7 separate regions of the Homo sapiens genome follow, and all the other regions are linked to region 7. Evidence: promoter capture Hi-C in human tissues and cell types (Jung and others, 2019). All regions are on one chromosome and are shown on one strand. Each heading gives the region's core, a stretch centred on a gene start or on the middle of the fragment in contact. The rest is flanking DNA. Distances are from core to core; before and after follow the strand shown.

The links. The method cuts DNA at HindIII sites, captures the fragments that hold promoters and counts their contacts. A contact is called where the count stands out against the background at its distance.
Region 1: a fragment that was not itself captured here is called in contact with the fragment with the promoter of TGFB2 in region 7 in 2 of the 25 tissues and cell types used here (IMR-90 fibroblasts and aorta).
Region 2: a fragment that was not itself captured here is called in contact with the fragment with the promoter of TGFB2 in region 7 in 2 of the 25 tissues and cell types used here (IMR-90 fibroblasts and aorta).
Region 3: a fragment that was not itself captured here is called in contact with the fragment with the promoter of TGFB2 in region 7 in 3 of the 25 tissues and cell types used here (heart left ventricle, liver and mesendoderm cells).
Region 4: a contact is called between a fragment that was not itself captured here and the fragment with the promoter of TGFB2 in region 7, in 1 of the 25 tissues and cell types used here (thymus).
Region 5: a contact is called between a fragment that was not itself captured here and the fragment with the promoter of TGFB2 in region 7, in 1 of the 25 tissues and cell types used here (mesendoderm cells).
Region 6: a contact is called between a fragment that was not itself captured here and the fragment with the promoter of TGFB2 in region 7, in 1 of the 25 tissues and cell types used here (mesenchymal stem cells).

What each region holds. Positions count from the first base shown.
Region 1 is chr1:218,817,036-218,820,880 of GRCh38, forward strand. No RefSeq gene overlaps it. Among named protein-coding and RNA genes, the nearest start is that of LINC01710, 100 kb to the right of the region's middle. The HindIII fragment of the contact is 5,444 bases long and covers 1-3,845 here.
Region 2 is chr1:218,721,509-218,725,412 of GRCh38, forward strand. No RefSeq gene overlaps it. Among named protein-coding and RNA genes, the nearest start is that of LINC01710, 200 kb to the right of the region's middle. The HindIII fragment of the contact is 4,462 bases long and covers 1-3,904 here.
Region 3 is chr1:218,776,058-218,779,878 of GRCh38, forward strand. No RefSeq gene overlaps it. Among named protein-coding and RNA genes, the nearest start is that of LINC01710, 140 kb to the right of the region's middle. The HindIII fragment of the contact is 5,281 bases long and covers 1-3,821 here.
Region 4 is chr1:218,837,286-218,841,346 of GRCh38, forward strand. No RefSeq gene overlaps it. Among named protein-coding and RNA genes, the nearest start is that of LINC01710, 79 kb to the right of the region's middle. The HindIII fragment of the contact is 4,884 bases long and covers 82-4,061 here.
Region 5 is chr1:218,741,993-218,746,259 of GRCh38, forward strand. No RefSeq gene overlaps it. Among named protein-coding and RNA genes, the nearest start is that of LINC01710, 170 kb to the right of the region's middle. The HindIII fragment of the contact is 3,896 bases long and covers 1-3,238 here.
Region 6 is chr1:218,798,570-218,802,727 of GRCh38, forward strand. No RefSeq gene overlaps it. Among named protein-coding and RNA genes, the nearest start is that of LINC01710, 120 kb to the right of the region's middle. The HindIII fragment of the contact is 6,551 bases long and covers 1-4,158 here.
Region 7 is chr1:218,343,871-218,347,847 of GRCh38, forward strand. It overlaps TGFB2 (transforming growth factor beta 2), which reads left to right and starts at 1,466. Exons shown (of 7, transcript NM_003238.6): 1 at 1,466-3,177. The coding sequence starts at 2,832. It overlaps TGFB2-AS1 (TGFB2 antisense RNA 1), which reads right to left and starts at 1,808. Exons shown (of 3, transcript NR_046268.1): 1 at 1,733-1,808; 2 at 1,305-1,518; 3 at 326-592. RefSeq lists a silencer at 1,394-1,453 and enhancers at 1,834-1,883, 3,015-3,515. The HindIII fragment of the contact is 13,667 bases long and covers 1-3,977 here.

The DNA.
Region 1 (3,845 bases), core at 838-3,337, 470 kb after region 7:
ATCAAATAAATATGAGATGTATAAGGAAAAAATTTAATTTTTTTTAAAATTTAAAATTTAAAATTTAAATTTTTATTTGAAGTGCACTTTAGGAGGCCTTAACTCCTACATGGAGGAGTTACTTCCTCAACTCACTAGGAAGCACGTGCTTGTCCTGCTCCCTGTGGCTCTGTTAAGAACAGCTAGACCTCGAGCACAGCTCTGCACTCTGTGGAAAAGAGACAGCACAACAGGAGTTCTGTGATTGATTTCTCCAATTTTTTTAAGGTAGAAAAAAAAAATGTTCTAAGACAGACACAGGGCTCAACAAGTTGAAATTGGGATTTATTCCCGGTATTACTTGGATTTTCAAGAATTTTTGGAAATCTTGCCTTTCGGCCACAGCTCTCCTCAGCATTATGAGTTATTTGCCAGATTCATTTCAAGCTCTTGAATTTACGGTTAAAAGAGAAATAAAAAGTCTTTCATTTGTTCCTAAGCTGTTTATTTTGCTTATAAAACCAATCATAACATCTACCCAATAAAAAGAGAAATGCATAAAAGTTATAACTCCAGAAAAGTTAACTGTTGAAGCCTGAAATTCCCCCAAGCAAAGCCAGAAGTCATTTTAATGAGACAGAATTTTCTCTTTGAACTTGGGAGGGCACACGAAACAAACTTGCTGAGAAAATTCTTCTTTTATCCTTCTCTAGAACTCTCCCCTTCAAGTCAGACTGTGGCTAAGCTTGGGATTGGAATTACTGGCCTAAGCAGGCAGAAACCTGGAAACAGTCTTCTACTGTTTTGTAGCACAAGAAAAACTGCTTAAAGGGCAGTGTGATGTGCATGGTACAGTATGGCACAGGACAGCCTGCTGCAGGGCGGTGCGTACTGTGGGTGTGCTATTGACCCCACCCCTCCTCTACTCGTGCCCTATCACATAAACACCAACTCTCACTATTGCACACACAGACACACACCCGCCCCCCTCCCCTTACAGAGCCAGACTGGACATCTGTGCGTTTGGAACCTAAGATACTAAAAGTGTTATGAAATGGCCTTCTGCCTCCTCTCCCCCTGCAGCTAAAACCCCAGAGCAAGGCTGATAAGCTTACTGAGCAGCAAAACCCTCACAGAAATGAGGAGAAACAGAACAGCCAAATCTAAAAGGTGCATCATCCAATTTGTTTCAGACCTACTAAGACCAGCACTGGCCATATGGGATCCTGTTTTGCAAAAAAATTGGACACAAATCAAGGGTTTTGTTTTCTTGGGTTTAAAAACTTTTCATCACTTTTTCCTTCTAGCATAAAAATACAACACTAACTACTTTACCAGGAGAAGCAAAAGCGTTTGAAAAATAATTTCACCCCCTACCAGCGCCTGCTATTGAGATCAGTGTCGGTTCCAATTTGTTCCTGACTCTCAAAATTTTTTTTTTTTCTCATTGGGAATTTTCTCCTTATGTGACTACTGAGGCAGGGCATCTGTGGCATACAGAGTCAAAGAAGTGAATAAAATAACTTTATATGTGGAAGCTATGCTCTTGAGGATGGCTTTCTCTCTGGACTTTCTAAGATCTTCCTTTGTATGATACATTTCAGTCCACAGAGTAATTCCCATGCAAGGAAGCAGCAGCTCAGTGGTTGGGCATTCCCGAGATGGGGCAGAGACAACGCTTTTGGCTGCATCATGAAATAACACACATTAAGTTCATTCTTTTCATCTTCAAAGAACAACATAAATCTTCATCCTTTAATTCTTCTTGCGGGGTGGGATCATTGTTATTGCTGATATTATTGTTATTACATCTTTTGTAACTCTTTTTACTACTTACCCTCTACTTGCCTTACCCCTTTTTACTGAAACTGAGGCACCAACTTGCAGAATAGAAGACCAAACAAAACCATACCAAAGGAAGAATGCCGTTAAGGCTCCCAGACATGCCCTTTCCATTTTCTGTGCTGTGAGGACACCTGGGTCCCTCAAATTATCTCTCATTGTTGTAAAGTGTGTTCCACGTAGTACAGCAGAGATCCATGAGATAAAATATCCCCTTGTGGTGAAGAAGATGTATTTCTTCAGATAACACTTTGGAGAAATATTTAAGAACAGGACTGTGACCCAAGGGTGACAGATCTCCTGTAATATCAGAGAACATAGGAGCACAGAGATTTTTCAGGGTTCACTTGACCACTTGCTCACACATGTCCTTGAGATAGTTACTTACTTGCTCTAAATCATAGGTTCCTCACGTGCCTGGCATTTGAAGAAGATTTAGCAAGGTTAAGCATGTAGAATGCTTAGCACCATGCCTGGAGCATAGAAAGGGTCCAATAGATGTGAGCTGTGATTGTGCTATGGTGGTAAATTCACTTGCTAGTTGGTGCCTTTTTGCAGGCAACCATGAAATTCTTGAAGATCTATTTGCACTTTAACACAAGGTAGTGGGTTAAAGTAGATTGAACATGATCTCCCAGAAATGGATTGAATATCATTCCTTCATATGAGGGCTTTGCCAGCAGTTCTACCTCCATCAAGAAATGTGTATTCTTTGAGCTTTTACCTGTCCCAGGGTTATTTGAGGCTGGAATAGGATAACATAATTAAATTGCTCAGCTAACATTAGGCTCTCAGCAAATGCAGATTTCCTTCCTATACTTGTCATTCTTATAAGCAGAGATAGCTTAGAAATTTGCATGACTGAAACTATCGTTTTTTGCATTTGTTTCATGTCACTTTTTAAAAAATTATTTTACTTTAAATTCTGGAATACATGTGCTGAACGTGCAAATTTGTTACATAGGTATACATGTGTCATGGTGGTTTGCTGCACCTATTAACACGTCATCTAAGTTTTAAGCCATGCATGCATTAGGTATTTGTCCTAATACTCTCCCTCCCCTTGCCCCCCACCCCCTGACAGGCCCCGGTGTATGATGTTCCCCTCCCTGTGTCCATGTGTTCTTATTGTTCAACTCCCACTTATGAGTGAGAACATGCAGTGTTCAGTTTTCTGTTCCTGTGTTAGTTTGTGGAGAATGATGGTTTCCAGCTTCATCCATATCCCTGCAAAGGACATGAATTCATTCTTTTTTTATGGCTCCGTAGTATTCCGTGGTGTATATGTGCCACATTTTCTTTATCCAGTCTCTCATTGATAGGTATTTGGCTTGATTCCAAGTCTTTGCTATTGTAAAAAATGCTGCAACAAATCCAGCAGCACATCAAAAAGCTTATCCACCACATTAAAGTGGGCTTCATCCCTGTGATGCAAGTCTCGTTCAACATAAGCAAATCAATAAACGTAATCCATCACATAAACAGAACCAACGACAAAAACTGCATGATTGTCTCAATAGATGCAGAAAAGGCCATCGATAAAATTCAACACCCTTCATGCTAAAAACACTCAATAAACTACATATTGATGGAACATATCTCAAAATAATAAGAGCTATTTATGACAAATCCATAGCCAATATCATACTGAATGGGTAAAAGCTGGAAGCATTCCCTTTGAAAATTGGCATAAGACAAGGATGCCCTCTCTCACCACTCCTATTCAACATAGTATTGGAAGTTCTGGCCAGGGCAATTGGGCAAGAGAAAGAAATAAAATGTATTCAAATAGGAAGAGAGGAAATCAAATTGTCTCTGTTTGCAGATGACATGATTGTATATTTCGAAAACCCCATCGTCTTAGCCCAAAAACTCCTTAAGCTGGTAAACAACTTCAGCAAAGTCTCAGGCTACACAATTCATGTGCAAAAATCACAAGCATTCTTATACACCAATAATAGACAAGGAGAGAGCCAAATCATGAGTGAACTCCCATTCACAATTGCTACGAAGAAAATAAAGTA
Region 2 (3,904 bases), core at 766-3,265, 380 kb after region 7:
CGCTCAGCCAAGCCACCACATCCAGCCTCTAAGGCATATTTCCCCACACCCATTAAGTCTGTGTGACGTCAAAAGTTAGGACCTGGAGTTTAACTTCTCTCATTGGACACCTCATTAACCAATGTAATAATGCCTCCAGAGAAATATGAGGTTACAATGAATAACAAGAAATTTTATGAGTTACCTGCTATAAAAGAAAGGTAATACTTTGAACAATTTATAGTAGAGGATCAGAATAAAAGTATTAGACAGAAAACCAATTTAATCCAAACATAATATGTATTTTCAAAGAGATATGAAACCACATAGCTATTTGAAATAAAGGCAAAAAGAATTTTTTTTTAAAAAAAGAACTATTTGAAAATCCTGGATAAGAAAAAACAGAGTTGAAATAAAGAGTTTAATAGCTAAATTAAATAGCATGTTAGAGATGTGGCTGAAGAAAAAAATTTGTATTCTAGAAAGTAGATTGAGAAATTTATCCACAATATATCAGGAAGAGGTACAGATTATAAAACCAAATTCAACAGCTATGAAGAGTTGAAACAGTTATTATCATCTGTATAGTAGTCCAAAAAAAGGAAAACTAGCAGAAAAAAAAATATTCTAAGAAGCTCCCAGAATAAAAGATTTAAGATTGAAAAGAGGGCAAAAAAGGTGGATAAGGTAAAGCCAATAACTACATAATGAAACTTAACACCATTAAATACAAAATTAAAAAAATTTGACTTAATGAAAATGAGATTACAAAGGAACAAGATCAGATCAACATCGAACTTCTCTTACTGATGTATAGATTTTTCTTATAACTCTTGATGTAAGAAAATAATAAATTATATTTCAAAGTATTAAAAAAAGAATTCTAAAGCTATAATTTTATACATAGCTAATCAATGTTTTAATACAGGCATGAAATAAAGAGCTACTGAAACACCTATAAATTCCAGAGAGTTTACTGCAAAAAGATTCTCTTTGAAAATATTATGAAGAAAGTAATCTGACAAAAAGAGAAATAAATATAGAATGACACCATAAGAAAAAAATATGAGTAAAATTAGTAAAATTTAATGCTGGCTACAATAATTTGAAACTAAAATGCAAGGTGAAGGGAATTGAGGGAATGTGATATATTATTCTAAGGTACTTGTCTTCTTTAGGGGGAAGACAAAAATATTTATAAAATTAAGAAATAAGGAAATAAAATAATAGTATGTAAGAATTTTAATATATCTATAGTAACCAGAAGAAGAAAGAAACTAGGTTTAATAAAGTATTCTGACCATGTAAAGAAATTTGTATTTCCAATGGAAGGCAGGAAAGAAGAAAACATAATATAAAATGTGTGGTAAATAAAAAATACTAAAAATGCAGAAATAATATGATGTCTATTCTAATACATGTAAGTCAATGAAAATAACTAATCCAAAGCTAAATTATAATACCTTGCAATTATAATATAACATTGGATTACAGTATTTTGATTACAAAACAAGTGCTTAAAACAAAAAGATATGAAAAAAACAGAAATAAAAGAAAGATAAACTCTAGGCAAAAATGAATCAAAAGAAAACCAGATAATTTTAATATCAGAAAAAAATAGAATTTAACTTGAAAAAATAACAAAGGACAAGTACGAACTATATATGCACATAAAGTCAAAATAATAAGAGGTCATAACTATCAGGAACCAAATATGTACCCCACAATGTAGCATCAATATATATATAAAGTAGCAGCTGATAGAATTATAGTGAGAGATAGATAATGTAATGATTGTAGTTGGAGATTTAAATATAACCACCTTGTAATTAAATGGTTAGTAAATAAGTAAAGATATAAAAAATTTGAATAGTATTAATAAGCTTATTAAGAGAGACAGATAAAAAATTACACATAACGAATGACAAATATTCTTTTAAATGTAAACACCAACAAAATAGCCATGTACTAATCACAGATGAAACCAACAAATTCCAAGGTCCAACTTGATGAACACTATGTTACCTAAACATAATATATTAGATTTGCATTAAAATTAAAAAACAATACAAAAGCTTAGAGGACTTCTGTCTAAAATGAATGTTGAATGTATTCCCAGGCCCACTAAATTAGCAGTAAAGATTGTACTATTGCAGATTGTGTGTGTGTGTGGAGCATGTGTATGTCTAATATCTAAACCTACCAGAACAAAAAAAGGACACAGAAAGCTACAGTAAACAGAACCCCCAAAACACATAAATCACTGGCATTAGGTACCTCTGAAAGTCAATTGAAGGTGGGGCTATGTTTAAAAACAGGTAGATTCACCAAGACCATCTGTCCCTTTGTGCCATAAAGTGACTGCTTCTCCTCAACCAAGAAGAGAAAGAGATTGAAGATCTGAAGAGGGAAAATAGATTTAGAGACACTAGCACTAGCCTAGTAGAGAGAGAGCATACCACGCATAAGAAAAAGGGAACTAGGCTGGGGCACGGTAGCTCACGCCTGTAATCCCAGCACTTTGGGAGGCCGAGGCGGGCAGATCACAAGGTCAGGAAATCGAGACCATCCTGGCTAACACAGTGAAACCCCATCTCCACTAAAAGCACACACACACACACAAATTAGCCTGGCGTGGTGGCAGGTGCCTGTAGTCCCAGCTGCTTGGGAGGCTGAGGCAGGAGAATGGCGTGAACCCAGGACGCGGAGCTTGCAGTGAGCTGAGATCGCGCCACCGCACTCCAGCCTGGGCGACAGAGCGAGACTCTGTCTCAAAAAAAAAAAAAAAAAGTAACTAATTCGAAGGCTACACTTAAAATGTTGAGAATTTCAAGCTTTTTTTTCCACTTAAATCTCAAAATTGGTAGCCAGGATTCAGGATTATATTCTTTAAGTAGAATCTTCACTGGTGAAAATGACTAGCCCAAGAGGAAACACTAATAGCACTTCATTGCGGGTTCTATAACAAAACATCCCAGAAATATCGACCTACATTAAGTACATGATCAACAAGCCTATTTGTGTTTCAATCAACTTTTTTATGGACATTTCAAAATATACCAGAAAGTTAACAACGAACAGATATTTGAAGATTTCTAAAATTAAATATAGAGGTTAAAAAACAACATAAAACAGCAATTTAGGGGGTCCTAAGATGATTCAGGGAGAAGAAGTCTTCACATAAACTATCAAATTGCTAAAGAGATGAAATATTGCTCTCATAAGACAGTAGGATGATATAACACACATAGAACACAACGTAAACAACAAAACAAAAAGGGTCCATAGAAATTACAAACATTATAACAGAAATAAAATACTTAATAAAAGAATTGAAAGATAATACTTAGGCTATTTTCCCTCCAAAACAAAACAAACAAAAAATGGAGCAAAAGACAAATAATTGATTATAGATAAACCTCAAGATATTGATTTCCTAAATATATAGGGTAGCTGAGCAAAGTCAAAGTCCTGGTTTTTATCTCCTAGAGGACAGGGCTATGCAGAGAATGGTCAAAATAGAGCAGGGCCTAATGGTACTCCCCATATGAAAAAGGTCACGAAGAACTCTTTTGGATAACTGAACATAAATATAACAATAACCAGCTAAAGGAATTGAAAATGTTTAGCTGGGTGAAATGCGCGGCATAAGGGAAATTCTACTTCATAGAATTGTTTTATTTTCTGTATTATATGCATGTGCAGAAAGAAATAAATAGATTAATTCAGTGCCTAAACTATGCAGCTAACACATTCGTCCCCTAGCTGAGGCAAATAGTGTCTACTGATGGCTCACAGCTGATTTTCTTGTTGGAAATTGCCCTCAGCTTTAGGAAACTTTGCTGCCCAAGATTATGCCCTCTTCAAGTGGCCAGTGATCAATAACTGACTGGTATGGAAATACAAAGGACTGACCCATTTTCAT
Region 3 (3,821 bases), core at 2-2,501, 430 kb after region 7:
TTCTGCAGATGAGGATCCTGAACAGGAAGCACTTTTTAGAGGCCTCCATGACAAGAATTTTCTCAGAAATCTATACTGATTGCATAGTTTTAAGAAGTATTATTGGCTTTTGTTGCAGTGGGAATTGTGGGAATGGACTTTAGCTAATGATGTCTGAAAGTGCAAGGCAGCTCTGAAAATGAGAGATTGAAGAAGGTGAGAGACCCAAGCCCCTTCTTTTGCTTATTATCAAAGCTCTACCCATTACTAGCAGTTTGAGGAAAACTGTGAAATTCTTCACACAAAGGCAAAACCCAGGCATGATTATGGTAAAAGCAATACTAACAGTGCTTGGTATTCCCAAACTTTCACGGTGCCCATCATCAGCATGGGCATTTCTGAGATAATAGGTAAAGCGGAGAGAAGGATAGAAATGAATTTAGCTCCTGCACGTTAGTGTATAGCCAAGAGGTTTGTGAGAATATTGAAGTGCTCCTGTTACAGCTAGTACATAGTTTCTATAGTGGGCCCTCTAAGTGCCTTCTCTAAGCATCCTGACCCTCCCACCACTGTGATTTTAGCCTGTACTGTTTTTAACTACTTTCAATATTGTCCCTGAAGAAGAAGGAAAGCCTTTTGGATTTCCTTGGGTGTTGACAGGGGTTTGGGAAGCAGAGTATAAACTTAATTCATCTAAACAAAAGAAAATGCGTGGATCTGGGCTATGCTGAGGACCACATATATAAAATGGGAATAATATAAAGCTCATAGGGTAGTTTTAAGGATGTTTTTTTTTCTGTTCAAAATGTACTAACCATCAGAGAGTTGGGGTGTGCAACACCTAGGTACCCCAGCACTGCATAGGACAAGCCATGGTTTCACAAGGGATTTACAGGACGGCCCTATCATCCTTCTTCCTATGTCTTAAAGTTTTGCCCATTTTAAACCAGTTCCACTTGGTTCAGATTACTCCATTACTCCCATCTTCCTCTTGGTGCTTATGTGTTTAGATCCACAAAGCCCTAACCCATTGCTCTACGTGATTATATATTCTTTTTAGCGTTTCTTAAATCTTTCCTGTGCTTGAGCTTTCTCACCTCTTATGTTGGAAACTCCTTAGGATTGGGAGCATGAGATTTCCTGAGGACTCCACCTGCCCTTGGCCATCAGGGTTGGTGACTGACAGAGTGGCCCATGCATTCTGCCTAGCCTGGACATGGTTCACCATTCTCTCCGCAGAGAGCATTGGGCAGAGGAGTAATATTGATCAGAGATAGCTACTATGGAATATATACAAAAGCCAGGGCTCTGTCACTTCGTTTAAACTCACATTACACTTGTGATGAAAGATACTTTTATTTCCACTTCATAGATGAGAAAACTGAGCCCTGAGAGGCTACATCAGTCATCCCAGGACAGCTGGCAGTTTCTCTTATCTCCCAGTGTGATGCTCATTTGACTTTTATCTCACCATCCCTCTGTGACCTTGTTCTCAGACTGTCTAGATGGCAGCTTGTTACTGGAGTCAAAGCTCTAATGGGTGAAATTGCAATAAGTTGTTGGGACAGCACATAATCCATCATAATCTGATATTGATCACCTTATTACCTAGACTTTTCATTACACTTCTCCTCGAGAAGGGTAATGCTTAAAGCACAGAGATCATATGTCTAATGACACCCAGTGGGGGTGGTTCAGATAAGGAAAGAGTTAAGGGTCTACCAGGAAACCCTCAGATCATGTTACATGTTACCAAATTATGGATTTGGGTAAAAGTAGAATTGATTGTGTCATGTGAGTAAGATTTTCGTAGCTGATTTTTCAACTCTCCAATAGACTGTCTTGCATGTACCAGGCTCAGAAGGGACACGGCACAGAGGATGCTGAGAGGCAGGGGAGGTGGTCAAGGAAGAGCTATGCAATGCTCAACTCCGAAGCCATGTGGTCTGATGGAGAAGGCAATCTGTGTTCAAATCTTAGCCAGGCCATCCTTTAGAAGTCAGATCTTGACAGAATCACTTCAAGCATCTGAGCCTCAGGTCTACTCATCTGTAAAATGAGAATAATAACTGCCACCAACTCCCTGGATTATGTTGAGGATTTGATTAGGTAGTGTTTATGGAGCATGGCACGTGTTCTCTACGTAACAGGTGTTTCCCTCTTACTCAACATTCCTTTATTCGTATTTAAAGGCAAAAATGGACTGACCAAATACTATGTGGTAAACAAATGAGAACCAAGCTCAAGGGATGGGTATCATTTTCTTAAACATACACAGACACACACACAGACTATGTGACAGGATGGGAAACTGAGAATCTAGATGAGATTTTATCCAAGGATAACAAGCCCAGTGTGGGTTTGGATGCCAAAAAAAAAAATGGTGACAATGCTACACTCTTCATTTTGGAGAGTCATGATGGCTAATGAGTCACCACTATGGTTATAGCTTTGCTTTGGGTAATGGAGATCTGCAGATATATCCAAGGGATCGAATTTTCCCTAGTAATGTTGAAAAAAGATGCACAGATAAACTTGTTTCTCTATCACAAGCTGCAGCCTTCTCTGTTCAGCAAAGAAGAAATGGTAATGTTTGAGTCCAAAGCTGGCCTGCCCTCCAGACCTGGAAAGTGCCCTCCATTATAGAATTCTGCTTGAGGTAATAATTTACATAAAAGGAAAGAACAATAAAATTTAGCTAAAAACAGCCACCCAAGTCCATCCCCCACCTCCGCTGCCATAAAGCTGATATAGCAACTGGGATTAAAATGTAACCTGAACCCAGAGAATTTTTGTAAATAAGATGAAAGCTGCCATTTAAGGTTTCTCAATGGCACCAACTGGATTAGAACTTCTCTTGAGATAGGAATCTTTTGACATTCCCCGGGAGCTGTATCTGCTTACTGGAAGGCACAGTTGATGCATGCAAAGTCAATTAAAAAGCTAACTGCATAAAAGACAGTGGCTGCACACGATTCATGCTATGCATTTCCCAGACAACCCTGGCTTTGTTTACTAGGGTTTTATGCAGAGTGGCAATGTGGGTAGTGATTTGAGACTGAAATCTGAAAGTCAAAAAATAAAAATAACCAAACTAATTCCTGACTGTAGAGGATCAGAGAAATTCTATACCTGCCATAGATATTTCTATAAATAATAATTTAATCTGACATAGGACTTTAAAAAAATAAAGCCCTTTATATTGACATTTGAGTATATGTATGTATGACTCGTGTGTGTGTGTGTGTGTGTGTGTGTGTGTGTGTGTGATGCCAAAATCTTAGGTTTTTATAACTTGTGTCATTTCTTGCAAACTGCATCTCTTTTTCAAAAATACTAGAGAATAGTACTTTCATTGTCAGTGGAGCCAATGATGGGTGAACTGGGCTCACTTACACACTATGACTCAGGTCTGGTCAATCAACATCTAATATTCAGGAATGTAAAAGTTCTCTCAAAGTCATTAGAAGCCATAAAAATTTGCTGAAACTTCTGGGACTCAGGTAGGTATTCTTTTCCCTTAGGCATAAATCTGAAAGAACGTAAGTTCTGGAGCTGCATTCATCATCTTGCCCTCAGGTGGAGCTTGTGGGCAAATAATACTAACAGCTAACCCTTACTGAGCACATGATAGGTGCTGGGCAGGGTTCTAAGGGCTTGATGTTTTTTAACTCATTCAATCTTCATGACAACCTGTGAAGTATTTGCATGCTGCTGCTATTTCATGCCTGCTGCTCTCAGGCTCTGCTTGCTTTGTGAAGCTTGTGTGATGACAAGAAGAACACACACACAGAAACGAAGTCCTGGTGCCATTATCTGGGCTCTGCATTTAGCCATTCCTT
Region 4 (4,061 bases), core at 1,274-3,773, 490 kb after region 7:
AAGTCAGTTATAAGACTGTGACGATAGTTGCTATGTAAGGAAATAAGAAACTTCAGCTAGAGAATAAGAAATGATCTTGAGAGATATTCCACAAGACTTAGTGTTTAATGGGTTTAAGGTATGGGAAGAAGTAATGAATTGAGATAAAGCCTGTATGTTTAGCTCTAGTTACTATATTTATGTGGTTGCCATTAAACAAAGTGTGTGTGTGTGTGTGTGTGTGTGTGTGTGTGTGTGTGTAGGAGGGTTAGTGAAAATGACCTCCATTTTGAACATGTTGCTGTTAAGTATTTCTGAGACATTCTGATGGAAAAACCCAATGGGAAGTGAATATATGAAATTAGAGTTGTAGGAAATATATATAGAATGGATATGTAATTTTGTGAGTCATTATAATTTGAGTATTAATTGAAGAATTATTCTGGGATGATGTGTACAGTGAGAAACCATGGACAAAGAGAATATCTAGAAACAGGAGTTACTAGATATAAAGGCATCTATAGGAAGAAAATCCGGCAAAGGATGTGAAAAAAGTCTGCTCAGAACTATAAGCAGGTAACTAGGAGAAACTACAGTCTTAGAATCAAAGAGAAGAAAGATTATAGTTATTATTTGTATCTTCTGAAGTTTTAAATATCTTTCTGGAAATGCTAGCCAAAGTAAATAATGAGAAAACAATTGGAATATAAAAACTGCAAAGAAGGAAATAAAATATCATTACTTGAAACACATATGATTATACACCATACTTAGAAAATCAGCTGGGAGAATGATTGCCAAACAATGAAAATTTAATAAGCTGACTAGATGCAAAATATGTCCAGATACCAATAGTTTCTGTTTATGTAAATAATAAAAAGTTGGAAGATTTATGGGAAAAAAACAATCATCTACAATAGCAACAATGAGTTAATAATGAATTCTTATTATGCACTAGGCATTCTTCTGAGAGCTTTCACAGGCTTGTAGTACAAATGAAGAAATGGAGGTAAAGCATTTAATTAACTTGTTCGTGTTTCTACAGCTAGTAAGTTTTAGAACCATAATTTAAATTTAGGGAGTCTTAATCCACAGGCTATGGCTTTAACTGCTGTAGTATGTAGTCTCTTCAAGAAAAAAAAGTCTCTTTAAGAGAGAAGTAGTAAAGAATATACTTAACAAGAAACACATAAAATCTGTATGAAGAAAATATTCAAATGCTACCAGTGGAGAAAGGAAGTCTTAGACAAATATAAAAGCATATCATATTTTTGAATAGGAAAATCTAACATCATAAAACAATAAATTCTCTCAAAATTAATCTATAAATAACACTTGATTCCAATAAAAATAACAAGGCATTTTTCTGTGGAATTAGTTTTAAACTTAATATGGAAAACTTTAAAAGGAAAATTCAGAAGAGTATTTTTGATAAAAGAATAGCACAACAGATATTTTTAAATGATTAAAATGTTTAACAGTAAAATGAGGCAGTGTTGGCACATTAGCAGACAGACATGTAAATGGAGCAAACTAGGAAGTCCAGAAATAGGTAGAAATACTTAGGGATTAGCATATAATAAAGGTGGCATCATATAATATATGTCAAATATCTGTGGGGGAAAAGATGGATAATTCAATAAATGGTGCTTAGATAATGGGGAAGCCATCTGGACAAAAATGGATTCACATTTTGTCACTGAAACTAATTCAAGAAAATTGAAGAGTCCACAGTAAAAAATATAAAATCATAAAAGTAATGGAGGGAGAAAACAGTTTATAATTTCAGAGTATGAAAGACCTTTATGTGTGTGACACAAAGACTACAAAAATCACATTGATAAATACAGCTACAAAAAATTAAGACAGTTTATCCTTACCAAACTATCAAAAAGAAAATTAGAAGACGGATGATACAACAGGAAAACATAACAGCTGTCTTAGGTCATTTCCTATTGCTATAAAAGAGTACCTGGGACTGGAAAATCTATTTTAATAATGAGGTTTGTCTCACAGCTCTGAAGACTGAGAAGTTTCCATACTGGGTGGCTGCATCTGGCGAGGGCCTCATGGTACATCATAGCATGGCAGATGGCATCACGTTGTTGGGAGCCTGTGCAAAAGAGATAGAACACAAGGGGCAACCTAGGTTTATAACAACCTACTCTCAAAGGAACTAATCCAATCTTGCAATAACTAACCCAGTATTGTGAGAAAGACATTAACCCATCTTAATGACCTAACTACCTTCTACATGTCCCACCTCCCAACACCATTACATTGGCAACTAAATTTCAACATGAGCTTTGGGAGGGACCATAACAACAACTTACAAAAAATATGCAACTTACTTTTTAAAAATAACTCTTACAAATCCAGAAGATCATCAACCAAAAAGAAGAATGAGCACATGATACAAACTGAGAGACTATTAAAATGTTAAAAAAGAAATTTAAATTCCCCTGAAATAAAAATACTCACTCTTACTCATATTAAAATAAATTAAAATTTAAAACTATGCAAAATTATCAGATTATCAAAGATTCAAAAGTGTGATAACATACCATATAGATGAGGATGAGGACAAAGAGGCACTCTCATACCTTACTAGTGAGAGTGCAAATTCATACATTCACTGTGCAGGGCAATTTGTCAATATCAAATTTAGACTTTAGAAATGAGTATATCACCTATCATGAAGAGTGAATAGAAAGCCATTTGGTTCATTCTTCCCACTGGAAAGAAACAATAACAAAAATATGTGTCTAGAAACATCTAAACATTTTTGAAAATAATTCAAGAGGTCAAGTAAGGAAATGTTAATCCAAAGTGAAGAAAAAATAACTAGAGAAATGAGTACTTAAGCTAGTTTATTTTGAGAGCATTTGCAGAACCTGGTAATGTTATTTTTAATCTTGATAGCCTTACCAAGTGATAAGGACAGAAATAAAAGCAGAAGACACCTTCCACCTGCCCACACACACGGAAGAACCAAAGGACCATGGTAAGGTAAGGGTTAACTGAATATTCCCATGAATCATTTAAAATCCTTTTGGGGGCCAGGTACAATGGCTCATGCTTGTAATCCTAGCACTTGTGGAGGCTGAGGTGGGAGGATAGAAGGATTGCTTGAGGCCAGGAATTAGAGATCAGTCTTGGCAGCATAGTAAGACTTCATCTCCACAAAATAGTAATAATAACAATAGCCAGCTGTGGTTGATCACACCTGTGGTCTTATCTACTCAGAAAGCTGAGGTGGGAGGATCGCTTGAGCCCAAGAGTTTGAGGCTGCAGTGAGCTATGATGGCACCACTGAATTCCAGCCTGGGTGACAGAGTGAGACCCCATCTCTTAAAAAAAGAAAAGAAAAAAAGGAAAGAAAAATGAAAACCACCTTTGCACCTTGATTTGAGGTGATCCCAAACTGTAAGAGATCCAGCAATCTGGCAGGAACAATAGCAAATTATATCTAGATAAATATTCACATATTGTAGGCCTCAATAATTATTTCTATAAATTATTATTTTATGTAAAACATGTAACATACAGCAAAGATAACCAGGCATACAAGGAAATTATACTTGATAAATGGAGGCCACTGTAAAGAAACAAAAAAATAGAAACAGTCTTGCAAATATTCAGATATTGAAATTACCAGACACAAAAAATTAAGTGTTTTTAAAAGATTGAATACATCTGCAGAGAAATCAACTATAAAATAACATAATAAACTTAAACAAATATGATTTCCAGAATTTAAAAAAAACTAAAATTTAAAACTAAATGGACAAGTTTAACAGGCGAATAGACACAGCAAAAGAAAGAATAGATGAACTGAAAGGTAGGTCAGACAAAATGTCTTAGAAAACAGCACTGATGTTTGAAAAAACAGCAAGGCATTCTCTTCTATATAGTCTCTTGTACAACCTGTGGAACTGTGAGTAGAATAAAGTGAGAAATGATAACATAAGCTTAATCAGAATCCCAAAAAGAGAGGAGCGAACCAAACGGAAGAGACAATATTTGTTAAGATAATGGCTGAGAATTTTTCACAACTAAAGAAAAATGCAGATCTACAGATA
Region 5 (4,267 bases), core at 41-2,540, 400 kb after region 7:
AAGGGCTTGTTTAGATTTTGGTTAAATTGTTTTGGCAAAAATATTCCACAGATGATGTTACATACTTCATATTGCACAATATCAAGGGATCCCACTATAACAACGCTAAATTTGGTCATATGATCAAAGTGCAACCACAGGATATTTCTATAGTAAAGTTATGTTTTTCCTTTGGATTGGCAAGTCGTGTGTAAGATGCCATTTGGCATCACAATAATGCTTTATTTTCCACCTACGTTTAATCTAATGGTCTTAGTAGACTTTCTTGATCCTTGTCTAATTTAATTATCTTGGGGGAATGGCACAATGGTGATTTTCTATCTGTTTATAAGCTCACATTACTCTTTATAAAGAAGGACTTTCTTCTACCATCTGTAAATAAACATCGTTTACTTTAAAAAACAAAAAACAGAGGGGAGGTGGAGCAAGATGGCCAAACAGAACCCTCCATTGATTGTCCTCCCTACAGGAACTCCAAATTGAAAAACTATTCACATAAGAAAGCACCTTCATAAAAACCAAAAAGCAGGTGAATGATAACAATACCTAGTTTTAAGATCATAACAAGAAAAGAGGCACTGAAGAGGAAAGGAAAGACAGTCTAGGATTGCCAGTACCGCCCCTCCCTGATTCCTGGGAGTAGCAGTGGCCATATGGTATGAATAGAATATCTGCACATCTCGGGGAGAGAGAGTGCAGTGATTGTGGGACTTGGCATTGTAACTTACTGCTGCCCTGTCACAGCAGAAAGCAACATGGGGCAGAATTCAGCCCAGGTCCACAGAGGGAGCATTTACACCAGACCTAGACAAAGAGGAGTTGTCCAGGCCAGTGATCAAAACCTGAGTTCCAACTAACTCTGTCACTGTGGGCAGAGAAGAGGAGAGGGAAAAGTAAAGAGGATTTTATCTTGCGAATTGGATACCTGTAGCTCAGCTACAGGCAGATTCCTGAGGCCCCCCATTCCAGGCCCTAAGTCCCAGACATTTCTAGACATACCCTGGGCCAGAAGGAGACCTGCTGCCTTGAAAGGAAGGCCATAGTCCTGGCACGATTAATCACCTGCTGACTCAAGGGCACTTTGAATAAACATCAGTAAACATCAACAGTTGCCAGGCAGCATTCACCATAAGCCTTGAGTGAGACCCAGTCTTCACTTCAGGTGTGACCCACCACATTCCCATCTGTGGTGGCTATAAGGAGGGTCTCCTTCTGCCTCAGTGAAAAAAAAAAAAAAGGATGGACGTGGTGGCTCACGCCTATAATACCAACACTTTGGGAGGCCGAGGTCAGGAGATCAAGACCATCCTGGCTAACGCGGTGAAACCCCGTCTCTACTAAAAACACCAAAAATTAGCCGGGCGCGGGTGGTGGTGGGTGCCTGTGGTCCCAGCTACTCAGGAGGCTGAGTCAGGAGTATGGCGTGAACCCGGGAGGTGGAGCTTGCAGTGAGCCGAGATTGCGCCACTGCACTCCAGCCTGGGCGACAGAGCAAGACTCTGTCTCAAAAAAAAGGAAAAGTAAAGGAACTTTGTTTTGCAGTTTGGGTTCCAGTTCTGCCACAGTGAGACAGAGCACCAAGTGAGCTCCTGGGGTAACCAGTTTCAGGCCTTGGCTCCTGGATAACATTTGTTAACCTGCCCTACATCAGAGGGGAGTCCACTTCCTTGAAGGGAGAGATTTAGGCCTGGCAGCATTCACCATAAGCTGACTGAAGAGTCCTTGGGCCTTGAGTGAACATTGGTAGTAGCCAGGCAGTACTTGCCATGGGTCCAAGGCAGTGGTAGCCATGGTAAGAGACTCCTCTACTTAAGGAAAGGAGAAAGGAAAGTGGGAAGAACTTTGTTTTGTGGCTTGAGGGCCAGCTCAGCCGCAGTAAAATAGAATTTCACGTAGATTCCTAAGGTTCCAGACTCCAGGTCCTGGCCCTTGGACAGCATTTCTGGACCTATCTCGGACCTGTGGGTAGCTTGCTGCTCTAAAGGGAAAGACACAAGTGTGGATGTTTTCAATACCTGCTGATTGTAGAACTCTGGGGCCTTGAGGGAACATTGGTGGTAGCCAGGAAGTGGTTACCTTGGGCAAGACTCAGTGCTGTGCTGGCTTCAGGTCTGACCTGGCATAGTTCCATATGCTTGTGTCACCCCTCCCCCAGCACTAGGCAGCTCAGCATGAAGGAAGAGAGACTCCATTTGTTTGGGGGAAAGTAAGAGAAGGAAACAAGAGTCTCTGTCTAGTAATCCAGAGAAATCTCCTGGATCTCACCAAAGACTAAGGAGGTACCTCTATGAGTCTGTAAGAGTCACAACATTACTGCCCTTAGGGTGCCCCCTAAGGCAGATAGGGATACAGTGATCAAAGATGTAGATCACAACACACAATTTTCTTGAAAAGCCTTCCCAAGACAGACAGGCACAAATAAGCCCAGACTACAACGACTACAATAAATATCTAACTCTTCAATGCCCAGATATTGACAAACATCCACAAGCATCAGGGTCATCCAGGAAAACATGATCTCACCAAAGGAACTAAATAAGGCACCAAGGATCAACCTCAGAGTGACAGGGATATTAAGCCTTTTAGACAGACAATTCAAAATAGCTGTTTTGAGGAAGTTCAGTGAAATTCAAAATAAGACAGAGAAGGAATTCACAATCCTATCAGATAAATTTAACAAAAAGATTGAAATTTTTAAAAAAATGAAGCAGAAATTCTGGAGCTGAAAAACTCAGTAGACATAAAAGGAATGCATCAGAGTCTCTAACAGCAGAATTGATCAAGCAGAAGAAAGAATTAGTGAACTCGAAGGCACTCTACTTGAAAATTTATACTCAGAGGAGACAAAAGAAAATAGAATAAAAAAGAATGAAGCCTTCCTACAAGATCTAGAAAATAGCCATAAAAAAGCAAATTAAAGACTTATTAGCCTTAGTGAGGAGGTAGAAAAAGAGAGATCAGGGTAGAAAGTTCATTTAAAAATAATAACAGAGAAATTTCCAAACTTGGAGAAAGACATCAATATTCAAGTGCAAAAAGGTTTTAGAACATCAAGCAGATTTAACCAAGGGAAGACTACCTCAAGGCATTTAATAATCAAACTACCAAAAGTCAAGGATAAAGAAAGGATTCTAAAAGCAGCAACAGAAAAGAAACAAATCACATACAAAAGAGCTCCAATATACCTGGAAGCAGACTTCTCAGTGGAAGCTTTACAGTCCAGGAGAGAGTGGCAAGGCATATTTAAAGTGCTGAAGGAAAAAAAAGCTTGTATTCTAGAAGAATATATCCAGTGAAAATATCCCTCAAACATGAAGGAGAAATAGACTTCCCAGACAAATAAAAACTGAGGGATTTTATCACAATCATATCTGTCCTACAAGAAATGCTAAAGGCAGTTCTTCTATCTGAAAGAAAGGGATGTTAATGAGCAATAAGAAAATATTTGGAGGTACAAAATTCACTGTAGTAGTAAGCACACAGTCAAACAGAATATTATAACACTGTAATTGTGGTGTTTAAACTACTTGTGTCTTGAGTAGAAGGACTAAAAGATGAATCTATCAAAAATAATAACTGTGACAACTCTTCAAGACAGAAACTGTATAATAAGATATAAAAATGAACAGCAAAGAGTTAAAAAGTGGGAGGATGAAGCTAAAGTGTAGAGTTTGTTAGTTTTTTCTGTGCTTTTTTGTTTGTTTCTGCAATCAGAGTTAAGTTGTCCTCAGTTTAAAATAATGGGTTATAAGATATTATTTGCAAGCCTCCTATTAATCTCAAATCAAAAAAACTACAACAGATACACAAAAAATAGAAAGATATTAAAATATACCACCAGAGAAAAATCACCTTCACAAAAAAAGGCAGGAAGGAAGAATGAGAAGACTACAAAACAACTTACAAACCAATAAGAAAATGGCAGGAGTAATCCTTACTTATCAATAACATTGAATGTAAATGGATTAAATTCTTCAATCAAAAGACACAGAGATGCTGAATACATTTTTAAAAAGACCCAGTGATATGTTACCTACAAGAAACACACTTCATCTATAAAAACACACATAGAGGCCGGGCGTGGCACCTCACACCTGTAATCCTAGCACTTAGGGAGGCTGAGGCGGGTGGCTCTCCTGAGGTCAGGAGTTCAAGACCAGGCTGGCAAACATGGCAAAACCCTGGCTCTACTAAAAATACAAAAAAAAAAAAAATTAGCTGGGTGTGGTGATGGGCACATGTAATCCCAGCTACTTAGGAAGCTGAG
Region 6 (4,158 bases), core at 797-3,296, 460 kb after region 7:
AGCCCCACATTTTCTTTATCCAGTCCACCACACCAGTGATGGGCATCCAGGTTGTCTTCATGTCTTTACTATTGTGAAAAGTGCTGTGATGAACTGTGCATACATGTGTTTTTCTGGTAGAATGATTTATATTCTGGGTATATATCCAGTAATTGGATTGCTGGGTTGAATGGTAGTTCTGTTTTAAGTTCTTTAACAAATCTCCAAACTGCTTTCCACAGTAGCTGAATTAGTTTACATTTCCACCGGCAGTGTACAAGTATTCTTTTTTCTCTGCAACCTCACCAACATCTGTTATTCTTTGACTCTTTAATAATAGCCATTCTGACTGGTATAAGGTGGTATCTTATTGTGGTTTTGATTAGAATTTCTTTAATGATTAGTGATGTTGAGCATTTTTTCATATGCTTATTGGCTGCATGTATGTCTTCTTTTGAAAAGTGTCTGTTCATGTCCTTTGTTCACTTTTTAATGGGGTTGTTTGTTTTTCGCTTGTTGATTTGTATAAGTTCCTCATAGAATCTGGATATTAGACCTTTGTTGGATGCATAGTTCACAAATATTTTCTGTCATTCTTTAGATTGTCTGTTTACTCTGTTGATGGTCTCCTTTGCTAAGCAGAAGTGCTTTAGTTTAATTACGGCCCAGTTATACATTTTTATTTTTGTTTGCAATTGCTTTTGAAATCTTCATCATGATATCTTTGTGAAGGCCTATGTCCACAGTGATATTTCATAGGTTTTCTTCTAGGGTTTTTATAGTTTTAGGTTTTATGTTTAAGTCTTTCATCCATCTTGAGTTGATTTTTGGATATGGTGAAAGGAAGGGGTCCAGTTTCAATCTTCTGCATACGGCTAACCAGTTATTCTAGCACCATTAATTGAAGAGGGAGTCCTTTCCCCATTGCTTGTTACTATTGACTTTGTTGAAGATCAAATGGTTATAGGTGTGTGGCTTTATTTCTGGGCTCTCTATTCTGTTCCATTGGTCTATGCATCTGTTTTTGTAACAGTGCCATGCTGTTTTCGTATACAAAGTAGCCTTGTAGTATAGTTTGAAGTTGGGTAGTATTCTTTTTCCTTAGGTTTACTTTGGCTATTCAGGCCTTTTTTGTTGTTTAATTCCATGTGAATTTTAAAATAGCTTTTTTCTAGTTGTATGAACAATGACATTGGTAGTTTGATAGGAATAGCACTGAATCTGTATTGCTTTGGGCAGTATGGTCATTTTAACCATATTCTTCCTATCCATAAGCATGGAATATTTTTCGATTTGTCTTTGTTGTCTTTGATTTCTTTCAGCAATACTTTATAATTCTCACTGTAGATATATTTCACTTACCTGGTTAGCTGTATCCTGTAAACTGAAGTTTCAGGATACAAAACTGAAACTGAAAACTGAAGTTTTCCATCCATTCTAGGAGACTTTGAGCAGAGACTCTGGGGTTTTCTAGGTATAGAATCATATCACCCGCAAAGAGATCTAGTTTGACATCCAGTCTTCCTATTTAAATGTCTTTTATTTCTTTCTTTTGCCTGATTGCTCTGTCTAGGATTTCCTGTACTGTCTTGAATAGGAGTGGTGAGGGTGGGCATTCCTGTCTTGTTCTCATTCTAAGGGGGAATGCTTTCTGCTTTTTCCCATTCCGTATGATGGGAAGTATGAGGTTGGCTGTTGGTTTCTTATAGATGGCTCTTATTATTTTGAGATATGTTCCTTTGATGCCTACTTTTTTGAGGGTTTTTAACATAAACAGATGTTAAATTTTATTGAGAGCCTTTTCTGCATCTATTGAGATGATCATCCTGTCTTTGTTTTTAGTTCTCTTTATGTGATGAATCACATTTATTGATTTGTGTATGTTGAAGTAAACTTGCAACCCAGGGATAAAACCTACTTGATCATAATAGATTAGCTTTGCAATGTGGTGCTGGATTCAACTGGCTAGTATGTGTCTATGTTCATCAGGGACATTGTCCTGAAGTTTTCTTCCCTCATTGTGTCTGTGCCAGGTTTTTTGGTGTTTTTGTTTGTTTGTTTGTTTGTTTTTTGTGGAGGTCGGGGAGCGGGCAGCGTTTTGCTCTTGTTGCCCAGGCTGGAATGCAATGGCACCATCTTGGCTAACTACAATGCCTGCCTCCTGGGTTCAAGTGATTCTCTTGCCTAAGCCTCCCGGGTAGCTGGGATTACAGCACCCGCCACCACACCCAGCTAGTTTTTGTGTTTTTAGTAGAGATAGGGTTTCACCATGTTGGCCAGGCTGGTCTTCAACTCCTGACTTCAGGTGATTCACCTGCCTTGGCCTCCCAAAGTGCTGGGATTACAGGTGTGAGCCACCATGCCCGGCCTGTGCCAGGTTTTGATATTGAATGATGCTGCCCTCATAGAATGACTTAGGGAGGCATCCCTCCTCCTCAATTTTTTGGAATAGTTTGATAGGTTGATACCACCCTTCTTTATATGTCTGGTATAATTCAGTTGTGAATCCATCTGTTCCCGGACTTTTTCTGGTTGGTAGTTCTTTAATTACTGATTAGATTTCAGAGCTCGTTATTGGTCTGTACAGATATGCGATTTCTTCCTGGCTCAATCTTGAAAGTTGGGTATTTCCAGGAATTCATTCATTTCTTCTAGGTTTTCTAGTTTGTGTGCATAGAGGTATTTGTAATAGTCTCTGAGGGTTTTATGTATTTGTTTGTGGTCAGTGGTAATGTCACCTTTGTCATTTCTGATTGTGTTTATTTGAATCTTCTCTCTTTTTTTCTTTATTAGTCTAGCTAGAAGTATATTAATCTATTTATTCTTTAAAAGTGCAAACTTTTGGTTTCACTTGTCTTTTGTACGGGTTTTTATGTCTCAATTCCATTCAGTTCAGCTCTGATTTTGGCTCTTTCTGCTAGCTTTGGAATTGGTTTCCTCTTGTTTGTCTAGTTTCTCTAGGTGGGATGTTAGGTTGTTAATTTGAGATCGTTCTACCATTTTGATGTTGGCATTTAGCACTCTAAACTTTCCCCTGAATAATGCTTTAGCTGTATCCCAGAGAATCTGGTATGTTGTATCATTGTTTTTATAAGTTTCAAACAATGTCTTTATTTCTGCCTTAATTTCATTCTTTACCCAAAAGTCATTCAGGAGCAGGTTGTTTAATTTCCATGTAATTGTACAGTTTTCAAAAATCCTCTTGGTATTGATTTCAATTTTTATTGCACTGTGGTCTTTGAATGTGGTTCGTATGATTTTGGTTTTTTGAGTTTGTTAGGAATTGCTTTATGGCCGAACAGGTGGTCAATCTTGCAGTATGTGCCATGCGCAGATGAGAACATATATTCTGTTGTTTTGGGATGGAGTGTTCTGTAGATATCTGCTGGATCAAGTTTAGATCCTGCAGCTTTATTAGTTTTCTGCCTCAATGAACCGTCTAACCCTTAGAGTGGGCTGTTGAAGTTTCCCACTATTATTGTGTGGTAATTTAAGTCTCTTTGCAGGTCTATAATAACTTGTTTTATGAGTCTGAGTGCTCCAGTGTTCGGTGCATATATATTTAGGATAGTTGTCTTCTTGTCGAATTAAACACTTTATCATTTTGTAATTCCCTTCTTTGTCCTTTTTGATCACTGTTGGTTTAAAGTTTGTTTTGTCTGACATAAAAATAACAATCCCTGGTCTTTTTGTTTTCTGTTTGCTTGATAAATCTTTCTCCATTCCTTTTCTTTGAGCCTTTGGGTGTCATGGCATGTGAGATGGGTTTCTTGAAGAGTACACGCAGGTGGGTGTTACTTTTTCATCCAACTTCCCACTCTGTGCCTTTTAAGTGAGGCCTTTAGCCCGTTTACTTTCAACATTAATATTGCTTTGTGCGGATTTGATTCTGTCATTGTGTTGTTAGCTGGTTGTTGCGTAGAACTGATTGTATAGTTGCTATATTGTCAGTGGGATATGTACTTAAGTGTGTTTTTGTGGTGTCGGATAACAGCTTTTTGTTTCCACGTTTAGCAGTCCCTTAAGGACCTCTTGCAAGGCAGGGTGTAATGAATTCCCTTAGGATTTGCTTGTCCAAAAAGGATTTTATTACTCTTTTGCTTGGGAAGCTTAGTTCAGCTTGATATGAAATTCTTGGTTGGAATTTCTTTTTCTCAACGTTGCTTAATATAGACCCAC
Region 7 (3,977 bases), core at 216-2,715:
GTTTCAGAGCCTTTAACATGATAATGTTCCAGAATGAGGAATCTAAGAGGACAGGAGAGTACCCAGTATCTCCCAAACTTGTTTGACTCCAGAATTCCTGTTTGTCAGAACATATTCTGGGACCATTGTTTCTCAGAAGTACATAGTAGGTAAGAACATAGTGGATCCTGACTGCAAAAATCCAGCTCTACCACTTACTGTGGTCTCGAACAAAGTACTTAACTTCTTTGTACCTCAGTCTCCTCATCTGCCAGATATGGATAATAAGACCCACTTTATAGGTTCATAGTGAAGATTAAATGACCATACACAACACACATCAAATTACTAAGTGTAGTATATGTTAGCTATTATTATTTTATTTATTCAGTGCTCTACTAATAACCTAGGCCCCATACACAACTGAAGTATAAATTCCAAAAGTGATAGAAAGTTCTTTGTGACTTTTCTGAACTCAGGAACATCTGAAGTAGAGAACAGTATAGAGATCTTGGGTTTGGGAGTACATTCAACAGAGTTTCCAGTTTAAATCATCTGTCTGGTCAGTATGGCTGCAGAGTCATGCCGAAATGAAAATGTTGACTTTGAGTAACTAAAGGTAAAATAAAAGAAAAAGGGAAGGTGGAACAGTGGTAAGAGTTATTCTTGTATTCATCTAATTTAGACTTAGTTGAAATTGAAAATGTCAAGTTATGAGTAGTGTAGAACAGTAGACATCAAACACTTAAAATTCCAGCTTCCTGGATTAATGCTATGGAAAGAATGAAGTTGGTTGATAATGTTTAGCCTAGCAAGAAGGTGAAGAAGAAAGCCATACAAGAAGTGGCTTAGGCAGCAAATTATAAAGGTGACCATTCATTCAAATCAGTAAAACAAACAAGTATACCTTATTCTTTAGGTAAAATTGATGGATCTCTGTTTTCCAGCAGTTCACAAACAGAGGGGTACATTGTAAACAACAAACTAACAAAATAAATTCTGGGATGGCAACCTGCTAAGGTATCCCAGAAAATAAGAGGTAGGACATGAATTTAAAAGATTGGAAGGTATGTCTTCAGTACTGGCCTGGCCCTGAGTAGACTAGTGCTCCCTCCCATAGGGGTGCGTGTGCACACATAATACAGGAGGGAAGCCTTCCCTTCTAGAGCAAGTGATTCAGCTTGGGAGGCTGTGACTGAGCTACACTAAGTAAAAACGGGAGACTTGATTGTCCTTCCTTCAACAGACCTGTCCAAAATGACTGGAAAGTAAATACCGTAAATCACTGTTGTCAGGGCGCACATTCCACCTCCTTCCTCCCTTACCCACAGCGGTCCTCATTTCCACACTCCCTCAACGGTTCGGGGAGAGCTCGTGGTCTAAGTAACGAGAGGACTTCTGACTGTAATCCTAGCACGTCACTTTGTTGAAGGCAGACACGTGGTTCAGAGAGAACTTATAAATCTCCCCTCCCCGGCAAGATCGTGATGTTATCTGCTGGCAGCAGAAGGTTCGCTCCGAGCGGAGCTCCAGAAGCTCCTGACAAGAGAAAGACAGATTGAGATAGAGATAGAAAGAGAAAGAGAGAAAGAGACAGCAGAGCGAGAGCGCAAGTGAAAGAGGCAGGGGAGGGGGATGGAGAATATTAGCCTGACGGTCTAGGGAGTCATCCAGGAACAAACTGAGGGGCTGCCCGGCTGCAGACAGGAGGAGACAGAGAGGATCTATTTTAGGGTGGCAAGTGCCTACCTACCCTAAGCGAGCAATTCCACGTTGGGGAGAAGCCAGCAGAGGTTGGGAAAGGGTGGGAGTCCAAGGGAGCCCCTGCGCAACCCCCTCAGGAATAAAACTCCCCAGCCAGGGTGTCGCAAGGGCTGCCGTTGTGATCCGCAGGGGGTGAACGCAACCGCGACGGCTGATCGTCTGTGGCTGGGTTGGCGTTTGGAGCAAGAGAAGGAGGAGCAGGAGAAGGAGGGAGCTGGAGGCTGGAAGCGTTTGCAAGCGGCGGCGGCAGCAACGTGGAGTAACCAAGCGGGTCAGCGCGCGCCCGCCAGGGTGTAGGCCACGGAGCGCAGCTCCCAGAGCAGGATCCGCGCCGCCTCAGCAGCCTCTGCGGCCCCTGCGGCACCCGACCGAGTACCGAGCGCCCTGCGAAGCGCACCCTCCTCCCCGCGGTGCGCTGGGCTCGCCCCCAGCGCGCGCACACGCACACACACACACACACACACACACGCACGCACACACGTGTGCGCTTCTCTGCTCCGGAGCTGCTGCTGCTCCTGCTCTCAGCGCCGCAGTGGAAGGCAGGACCGAACCGCTCCTTCTTTAAATATATAAATTTCAGCCCAGGTCAGCCTCGGCGGCCCCCCTCACCGCGCTCCCGGCGCCCCTCCCGTCAGTTCGCCAGCTGCCAGCCCCGGGACCTTTTCATCTCTTCCCTTTTGGCCGGAGGAGCCGAGTTCAGATCCGCCACTCCGCACCCGAGACTGACACACTGAACTCCACTTCCTCCTCTTAAATTTATTTCTACTTAATAGCCACTCGTCTCTTTTTTTCCCCATCTCATTGCTCCAAGAATTTTTTTCTTCTTACTCGCCAAAGTCAGGGTTCCCTCTGCCCGTCCCGTATTAATATTTCCACTTTTGGAACTACTGGCCTTTTCTTTTTAAAGGAATTCAAGCAGGATACGTTTTTCTGTTGGGCATTGACTAGATTGTTTGCAAAAGTTTCGCATCAAAAACAACAACAACAAAAAACCAAACAACTCTCCTTGATCTATACTTTGAGAATTGTTGATTTCTTTTTTTTATTCTGACTTTTAAAAACAACTTTTTTTTCCACTTTTTTAAAAAATGCACTACTGTGTGCTGAGCGCTTTTCTGATCCTGCATCTGGTCACGGTCGCGCTCAGCCTGTCTACCTGCAGCACACTCGATATGGACCAGTTCATGCGCAAGAGGATCGAGGCGATCCGCGGGCAGATCCTGAGCAAGCTGAAGCTCACCAGTCCCCCAGAAGACTATCCTGAGCCCGAGGAAGTCCCCCCGGAGGTGATTTCCATCTACAACAGCACCAGGGACTTGCTCCAGGAGAAGGCGAGCCGGAGGGCGGCCGCCTGCGAGCGCGAGAGGAGCGACGAAGAGTACTACGCCAAGGAGGTTTACAAAATAGACATGCCGCCCTTCTTCCCCTCCGAAAGTAAGTACTTATTTTGACTTCCATCCCCTGAGGTTTAGCTCTGCCCGGAGCTCTCAAAACCGCAGCAGCTCCCGGGATCGCCCTTCCCTCTCGCGGTTCCCGTTCGCTCTTTTCCCGTTCTCCTGTCCTTCACCCCACCACCTCCTTTTCAGTTGTATGCTTGAGGCCATCAGGCTTTAAAATGTTTACTTTCTACTTTATTTTCTCCATCTTTCCCTTCCCCCTAACAATTCGGTGCTTTAAAAGGCGTTATTCTCTTTTTCTCTTCCCTGAAGTTCTTTAGTCGGCCACCAGCTAGGAGTCAGCCCCACTCTGTCAAACTAGAGGTGCTCCCAGGGGCAGAGTTAAACTGAGGAATCTTGGTAGGTTTGTTTTCTTTGCTCCGATTGGCGTGGAGCGCGCCGAACTGGTGCACGAAGGGTTAAAAAAAGTGTCTCAAAACTAGCCTCTCCGGAAGGCGCCCCCTTTCCGTGCTGACCTATCAGCTGGTTCCCCAAGCCTTCTCTATTGTCTCTAACTACCCTAAAAATGTCAGCATCGCCGAGACAAAACCCGGTTTGGAGACCCCTCGAGAAACCTACCTGGCCCTCAGTCCTTGATGTATCATTTGCTATCACTAGGTGTTTCATTACCCAAAGGCAAAATCCTATAACCACGTTCCCTTTTCACTTAACCTGGAGTGTAGAAAGGACAACTCCGTTTCTGACTGTGTTTTAAAAGGTTTTGTTCACGTTATTTTTCAGAATACACTCAAACCTGCCTTCTTCACATCTCCAGTGTAGCAGATCATTTTTCTTACG